Regions from separate parts of the Homo sapiens genome. Here regions 1 and 2 are each linked to region 3. Evidence: promoter capture Hi-C in 16 types of primary human blood cells and fetal thymus (Javierre and others, 2016). All regions are on one chromosome and are shown on one strand. Each heading gives the region's core, a stretch centred on a gene start or on the middle of the fragment in contact. The rest is flanking DNA. Distances are from core to core; before and after follow the strand shown.

The links. The method cuts DNA at HindIII sites, captures the fragments that hold promoters and counts their contacts. A CHiCAGO score of 5 or more calls a contact.
Region 1: a contact is called between a fragment that was not itself captured here and the fragment with the promoter of MAST4 in region 3, in 1 of 17 cell types (M1 macrophages). The highest score is 5.0, in M1 macrophages.
Region 2: a fragment that was not itself captured here is called in contact with the fragment with the promoter of MAST4 in region 3 in 7 of 17 cell types (endothelial precursors, M2 macrophages, M1 macrophages and 4 more); the score reaches 7.1 in endothelial precursors.

Annotation. Positions count from the first base shown.
Region 1 is chr5:66,205,534-66,208,233 of GRCh38, reverse strand. It overlaps LINC02065 (long intergenic non-protein coding RNA 2065), which reads left to right. Exons shown (of 2, transcript NR_146488.1): 2 at 1,581-2,700. All of the region lies in intron 3 of LOC401191 (a long non-coding RNA gene), which reads right to left. Among named protein-coding and RNA genes, the nearest start is that of LINC02065, 2.6 kb to the left of the region's middle. The HindIII fragment of the contact is 1,855 bases long and covers 439-2,293 here.
Region 2 is chr5:66,320,498-66,323,197 of GRCh38, reverse strand. LOC124900988 (a long non-coding RNA gene) reads right to left here. Exons shown (of 3, transcript XR_007058792.1): 3 at 1-365. Among named protein-coding and RNA genes, the nearest start is that of LINC02065, 110 kb to the right of the region's middle. The HindIII fragment of the contact is 1,865 bases long and covers 339-2,203 here.
Region 3 is chr5:66,595,124-66,597,823 of GRCh38, reverse strand. MAST4 (microtubule associated serine/threonine kinase family member 4) reads right to left here and starts at 1,431. Exons shown (of 29, transcript NM_001164664.2): 1 at 806-1,431. The coding sequence starts at 1,168. RefSeq lists silencers at 686-835, 846-985, 1,596-1,795. The HindIII fragment of the contact is 7,618 bases long and covers 1-2,700 here.

The DNA of each region.
Region 1 (2,700 bases), core at 117-2,616, 390 kb after region 3:
TGCCTCACCCTCCTCCCCCAGCTGAGCGAGGATCAACAGACCTGGTTCCCCGCCACTGCTCCATTGAGCTTGATCTGGAAAATGAGGACTCACAGTCCTGCTTAGGACACATAGTGGGGGAGGTTGGGCTCGGTGGAGCCAGACAGCATACTCAGTCATTTTAACAACTTGTTATTTTTGAGGCCCCAAGCTCCAGAAATGAATTTGGAAAGAAAATGAAAAAAATAACAAGACAGATAGCAGGAATTCAAACTCCACTAACAAAGGCCATCAGCTGAAACCAATTTGGACAGCTCAGCTCAGTCTCGGCTCATGAACTTCGCTTTACCTCAGAAAAGCCCTTCAGCACAGCACACGTGCACACACATGCTCACTCACTCTTACAAAAGGCAGGACTGGGTTTCAGAGCTATGCAGCAAGACAGAAGCAAAAGAAGCTTGCTTCCTTTTATTTAAGTGATAATCTCTGTGGTTTTGACTTCAGTAACTGTGATATTGTGATTTATAAGAAGAAATAACATATTTTGGTCTTCTTCCAGTTTCAGGGCACAGAACTCCTAAAACCTTTGGAATTTCCCAAGTTATAAGTACCCTTTTGTATGCTAGCGAGATGATCCCTGGCTGGGGACTAATGGAGAGCCTCAAGATGCCAGGAGAAACAACCATGTGATTAGAGGGTTAGAACTTTCAGCACCCCCACACCACCCTCCTTCAGGAAGGGGAGAGAGACTGTAGGTTGAGTTGATCTCCAATGGCCAGTGATTTAATCACTCATGCCTACATAATGAAGCCTTCATAGCAACCATAAGAATAGAATTCAGAGAGCTTCCAGGTTGCTAGTACACCCAGAGAGGGCATGGAAGCTCCAAGACACCTTACTCATATCTTGTCTTATGCATCTCTTCCTTTATACATATTTTACACATTTTTTAACTTTTTATTATTTTTTAAATAGAAACAGGGTCTTGCTATGTTGCCCAGACTGGTCTTAAACTTCTGGCCTCAAATGATCCTCCTGCCTCAGCCTCCCAAAGTGCTGGGGTTACAGATGTGTGCCACCACGCCATCTCTTCCACCCGGCCATTCATCTGTATCTTTTGTGATGTATTCTATAATAAGCCAGGAAACATAAATGAAACACTTTCCTGAGTTCTGTGAGCTGCTCTAACAAATGATTGAATCTGAGGAGGGGGTCATGGGAACTCCCAATTTGTACCCAGTCATTAGAAGCACGAGTCACAATCTGGGATTTTCAACTGGCATCGGAAATAGGAGGTTGTCTTGTGGGACTGAGCCCTAACCTGTGGGATCTGACTCTAGGTTAGAGTATCAGAATTGAACTGAATTCAGGACACCCAGTTGGTGTCTGCTGGAGAATTGGTTGTTGCGGAAATCCCCTGACACATTTTTGTGACCTAATGTGAAGTTTGCTGTGTTGAGTGTTGAGAGTATAGTAGAAGAAAACAGCCAGTTAGTTTGCTTTCCTACTACTATCCAGGTATCTTAAAACATAGTATGTCAAATACGGAACTGTTTATTTTCAGCCACACCCTCCCCAACAAAATCCTTTTCCTCCTCCAGGCTGTCATGTCATTTATTGGCACCACCTTCAACACAACTACTCAAGCCCAGTTGCTGAGCATCATCTGGAATCCTTTCACCTTCCCATGCACAATCCTTGAGATCCGGAGATGCTACCTCCAAAAGGCAACCAAAAAATCTAACGACGACTCACTATCTTCCCATCTACTGTCCAGTTGTGTATATATGCGTCTATGGACCAGGTAGTGTGTCAAAGGTATTTCTTAGCTGTAGGGTTGCAGCAAAAAAGTTTGGAAGCTATTCATTGCCCATTAGGCAATTAAAGAGTAAAGATGTGGCCCCTGCCTACATCTTTAATCTCATCTTCTGTCATCTCCCCCTCTTTGCTCCTTTAGTCCCTGGAAAGTGGTAAGCTCTTTCCTGCCTTGGGGCCTTAGTATTTGCTGTTAACTCTACCTGGAACATTCTCCTTATCTTTCCCATGGCTGATTCACTGCCATCCTTCAAGTCTCAGTTTAATGTCATATCCTCAGAGAGGCCCCCCATCCATATTATGTAAACCATGTCTTCTTCCCATCACTACACGCTATGGTCTGAAAGTTTGCATCTCCCCAAAATTCATATATTGAAACCTAATCCCCAATGCAATAGGATTAAGAGGCGGGACCTTTAGGAAATAATTAGGTCTTGAGGGTAAAGCCCTCATGAATGGGATTAGTGCTTTTATATAATAAAAGAGGCCTGAAGAAGCTTATTAGCCCCTTCTGCCATGTGAAGACTCATAGAAAGTGCCATCTATGAGGAAGCAGGCCCTCACCAGACATCAATGCTGCTGCCTTGATCTTGGGCTTCCCAGCCTCCAGAACTGTGAACAATGAATTTCTGTTGTTTATAAGTTACCTATCTAAGGTATTTTGTTATAACAGTCCAAATGGACTAAGCCCTAAAGGACTTTTTCTAATGAATAGCTACAGGTTGATTTACGATCAGTTTTTTTATGAGACTGTAAGCCTTCTGAGGTCAGTAATGGTGTGTGTATGTGACTGTACCCTGCATCTGCATCCTACTTTTACCTAACAAAAAGAGCCTCACAGAAAGCTTTGGCAATTAATGACAGCCTGTAGAGTTCTGTATTCATAGAAGCAGTAGGGGTACATGC
Region 2 (2,700 bases), core at 22-2,521, 270 kb after region 3:
TCGGTGTGATTTCGTCCCTAATGGCCCCTGTGGAAAGTTCAGCAGCCCGTGGCATCACAGTGGTTCAGAGGATGCATTGCACAAATGAGAAATCTTACATACATCTCCTGCTTCTCCTCTTACACAGCCCTTTGGAAAGAAATTTCTCTCCATGTTTAATCAGTGGTGCACTCACTTCGTCCTTGCTAGATTTTGAATGCACAACCACATCCCACCTCATTAGTGACAAGAAAGCTGAGCCGTCAAGCATGGCTTACACTCCAGGAGCGGGGTCTGTATTAGAGCAAGGTCCAGGATCCACGCACAAGCTGAGTTGGCTTTTTCTTTTCTTTTAAGCTTTATCGATCTCAGGAAGAACTGAAGGTCTGTTGAAAAAGTGTGGGAATCAGCTCAACATACTAATTTATGTATTATTTATGCACTTAAAGAAGCCTAGACTCCCGGCAAGAAAGAAAAATGTGTGCAATAGAACTGCCATTGTATTCAATCCCAACATCCGGAGCACTTCACACACGCACTGTGAAGTCTCATGGGGGAGAATGGGATATGGGAAGCAAAGCAGAATTTGAAATTGGCCTGTGCTTGAGCACCACCTCCATCATGAGACCGGGGCAAATGACTGCACCTCTCTAGGCTTCAATTTTCTCATCTCTAAAATGCAGACAAATGCCTATTTGCAGGGTTATTATAAGAATTAAATGAGAAAAGTAGTGCATGAATTTCTAAGTCATTACAAATGCCTGTTGTAGGTATCCTGTGTGAGGAGGGGCACAGGTCCTGCTCCTGGGTTTCTTGTCATGGAATGGCCGCCTTTCCTGACCAAAGGCCCCAGTGAGAACAGACAACCCTAGAGCACTAAAGAATTCTCCTATCTTTACCAATAGGACACAGAACAAAGACTTGCTCCATTAATTCAGGCCACAGCTAGCATGCATCCATCACTCAATCTCTCTCTCTCTCTATACACATACATACATATATATACATATATATACATACATATATATGTATATATATGTATGTATGTGTATATATATATATATAAAATAAAATAAAACCACCTCAGTCACCCACCTACCATAAAGCAATAAGTCCAGTATTTTCCTAATAACCTCAGCCCCATATTAATGGCCAGCCTGCCTCTCATATTCGGCAAGGAGAGCACTGGTCTCTGAACAATCCACTCCTGCCTGGTTCCTTGCTGCCACCAACATGGCTGCTGAACTCTGACTGCCCACAGCCTGAGATGTTCCCTCCACACTGTGCTGGCCTTATACCTTTGGTCTTCTGAGGGAGGATGGTCAACTTTAATGTCCAGCTCAGCGAAGGCTGTGCACCCCTCTCCCCAGCAAGGGTTCTAGGACAGCAGTTCTTAGGTGATACTCCCTCCCTCCCTCCTCCAGGTGTCAGGATTCCAGGGATTGTCTGTCAGAATTGTTTTACATAGCAAGAACTCTCTGACTATTTCAATTCCCCGTAATCCACATCCCTGTGCCTCCAACCCCTAGAAAGCAAGCAGATCTTTCTTTTCAGCCTTTGAAATCCACTGGTTCTCCTCCTGTTCAATATCCCTGCTTCTAGCTAATTGAAACTATATATATGTTATTGTTAACTACAGTCATCCTACAGTGGTATAGAACACTAGAACTCACTCCTCCCATCTAGCCATAATTTTGTGTCCTTTAACAAATCTCTCCCTAGCCCCCTCTTCCCCCAACTCTTCCCGGCCTCTAGTATCCTCTATTCTACTTTTCATTTCTATAAGATCAACTTTTTCTAGCTTTCACATATAAGTGAGAATATATAGTGTTTAACTTTCTGTTCCTAGCTTATTTCACTTAACATAGTGTCCTCCAGTTCCCTCCATGGTGCCACAAATGACAGGATTTCATTCTTTTTATGGCTGATTAATAGTCCATTGTGTGTGTGTGTATATATATATATATATATATATATCACATTTTCTTTATCTGCTCATCTGTTGTTGGACACCTAGGTTGATTGCAGGTCTTGGCTATTGTGAATAGTGCTGCAATAAACACAGGGGTTCAGATGGCCCTTCAATATAATGATGTCTTTTCCTTTGAATAAATTCCTACAGCTCCCCTTTGTTCCCTTCCCCCCTCATCCTCCCCTCCCCACTCCATCCCGACGCGTACCTCATCTTCTCTCCTTCCCACCCACATCCAAAAAGGACAAAGCTTCCTCTTCAGTTTCACCACAGTGACTTAATCTCTTGTGCAAAAGACAAGGTAAATCCTCGGTAAGACCTTTTACTACAGTTGCAATATTTATCCAAATTGTCTTATGTGGGACAAACTCTGTGCTCGATAGTTCACATCCTTACCTCACTTAATTCTCACAACGACTTTGTGTAAATATTACAAAGAGAAACTGAGATTCTAAGGGGTTAAACGGCTGTTCCAAGGTCACACAGCTTGTCGACTCCACCACTTGTTAGAGCCCCTATCCCCTGGCATTCAGCTCCACACTCCTGTCCTGTATATTTCACAACACTTACTATGCCAGGACTTCTTAGCAGTTCGTAGCACTTCTCACAAAATAATCATTTCATCCTCACATACCCTGTGAGGTAAGTACTATTATTATCCCATTTCACAGATGCAGAGACTGAGACATAGGGAATTTAGATAACTTTTCCAAAGGCCTACAGCTGATGAGTAGACAGGGATGCAAACC
Region 3 (2,700 bases), core at 182-2,681:
ACAGAGCAGCCAGAAGGACACCAGAGTCCTATGCTCAGTGTGTCAGGAAGCGACCCACAAGTTCTGGAGGAACATCCTTCCAGGAAACTGGGCAGATACAGATCCCCCACCCCGCTCCGCCCCGCAAAAGGTAAGACGATCTGTACTCGGTTTGGTGACAAGCGTTCATCTGGACAAGCTGGAAACAAGTCTGAACGGGAGCTGCAGGCGCGCACGCCAGCGCCACCGAGGGAGCGCGGGGAGTCCTCTTCTCCCAGAGGACCGACGCTGCGGGGACGCGCCAAAACCACCCGCGGGCGATCCCAGGGGGCTGGCGCCACTGAAACCTCCGCAGGCAACTCCGCGGCTACCGCTGCCCCCCACCCTACTCCTGCCTCTTACCCCCAAGGCACCATTTCTCCCCCTCAACTCCCTGCCCCTCGGCCCAAGCGCTTCGGTGGGAAACAACGCCCACTTTGGAGAATCAGAGGTGAGTTGTGGGGACACGCCAGATGTCCAGATCGCATCCTTTCACAGATCAACCAAGTCAGATACAAACACGAAGGAGTTTGCTTCTCTGACATTTTAAAAACACACCATCAGGCAGCACACTGAGACACACACACGGGGGTAACAGCCACAGGGAAGTCAATAACCCACAGGGGGGCTCCTAACTATCGTTGTCCCGTGCTCGGGGCAGAGCGCTTGGGGTCCCTCCCTATCTCCAGGCCACAGCGCTCTCCTGCCCACTGCCTGTGCGCAGGATGGGAAACTACGGTCGCCCGGCTGCCGGAACCCAGAGTGGGCAAGCTGGGGAAAGGCCCACCTCCTCGTCCTGCTCCTCCTGGGACGCGCTGCTGCCCCGGGGCGCGGGCGGCACAGCTCCTCCGGGAAGCGGCGGCGGCAGCGCAAGGACTCCGCGCTCCAGCAGCACGCTTGCCGGAGCCCACGCGGCGGGCGCCCGGGCGCCCAGGGTGCCTCCCAACGGCGGCGGCGGCGGCGGCTGATGCTCTCTGGAGAAGCCGCCGGGCTCCCCTTCCTCCGACAGAGTTTCTGAGCCCGAGGAGGACTCGGCCGAGGAAGCACCCGGAGAGGACGCGGCGACCAGCGCAGAGGCTGGAGTCCGGCTGCCGTGGCCACTGCAGCCGCGGGGCACCGGCTCTGGCGCCTCCGAAACTTTCTCCCCCATTTCCCTGTCTGGCCCAAAGTGCCTCCCGAGCGGCGGGGGCGCGGCGCGCACTCAGCGCCTCCCGGGGAAGACGCGGGCTCCTGGGCTCAGGCTCACTGGCACTGCCGCTCCCGGGCTGCAGGGAGCCCCGCCAGCGACTACATGGCAGTGACGGGGCCGCAGGAGCCCGCTGCTAAGTTCACAGCCGCCCGGGCCCGGCCGCAAACGGAGGCTCCCGCGCGCGGGGACATGCCCGCTCGGGTCCGCGATCTGCGCTCCACTGTGCTCCCGCGCTGCACCCGAGCCGCGGGTACTGCGGCTTCTCCTTGCAAAACCTGCCTCCGGGACGGAGCAAGGAGACGGGCAGCCCGCAGAGCCAATGGCAGGGCAGGCGCGCTGGTGGGCGGAGGCTGCGACGCCTCCGGCCATGAGGGCCTCAGGTAGGGGAGGCGGGGCCCGGGCGCGGGCCGTGGTCCCGCTGGAGCGCCTGGGCGCAGGGGACAGGGACCAGGCGGGGGTCCCCGGAGGGTGGGGGCGGAGCCCAGAATCGGAGCCAAGGGCTGAGACTCCGAACTTAGCGGGGGAGTGGCTGACCGTCCTTGGGACGTCAGAGGGAGACGGCGAGCGGATGGTGAGACCTTGGAGAAGAACTGGACTTTGTCTCCAAAAAGTGGAATCAAGAAAACGGACAAGAAGGAGGGCTCTATAGGGAAAAAAGGAACCACACACACACAGTCACCCACGCACACGGACTCACCAGCGTGTTGGAGGAAAAGGACAGAAACTTCGTGGTATAGTGAGCGGACCCAAAGGGGAGTGACCTCTAATCTCTGCTTTTCCGTTTAAGCTCTTTGGGCCTCAGTTTCCTCAACTGTAAATGGCTACATTACTACTGGTCTTGGCAGGCTTAGAGCAAATATATATAATGCATCAGCAAAGTGCCTGGCTTGGATACACGGAGCGTTTTTAAAAGACTATTTCCTGTCTTTATTTCTGTTTGTAAACTAAAAAGTTAAGTCTGAGACTTGAACCTTTTGATAGGGAGGAAGATAAAAAAGTATGTCCTTGTATTTAATTAGGACCAAGCTCTGTAGTCCTACTCAAATTGTCTGTCTCGGTATGATCAGCTAAGCAGAGGATGAAAAGGATTCACTTTCCAATGTACATTCTCCTAGCCCTGGGTTGTAAACCAACAGGATACAGGACAGGTTGCTTCATTTTCCTTACCTCTAAGAACTAGGAGAAAGAACTTTCACTAAAGGTACCAATAGAGTACCCTTAAGTCCTTCCCTGGGGCTGGAGGATGCTGCCTGTCCGGTGACTGGAATTTCCTTGGAAGCCAGCACTCAGCTCAGCAGTGGGAAATAAATGATTCCTCTCTTGCCTTCAGCTCTAGTCCCATTCTGAGCTCTGGCACAGTGACCTGGGATGTAAATTCAACCGCCTCAGTTCCATGTACGTTGATGGAGATGTGTGCCAGGTGCAGGGGATACAAAGATTAATAAGTCAGGTCCCCTGCCCTTGAGCAGCTTATGGTCAAGCGAGAGATTGAT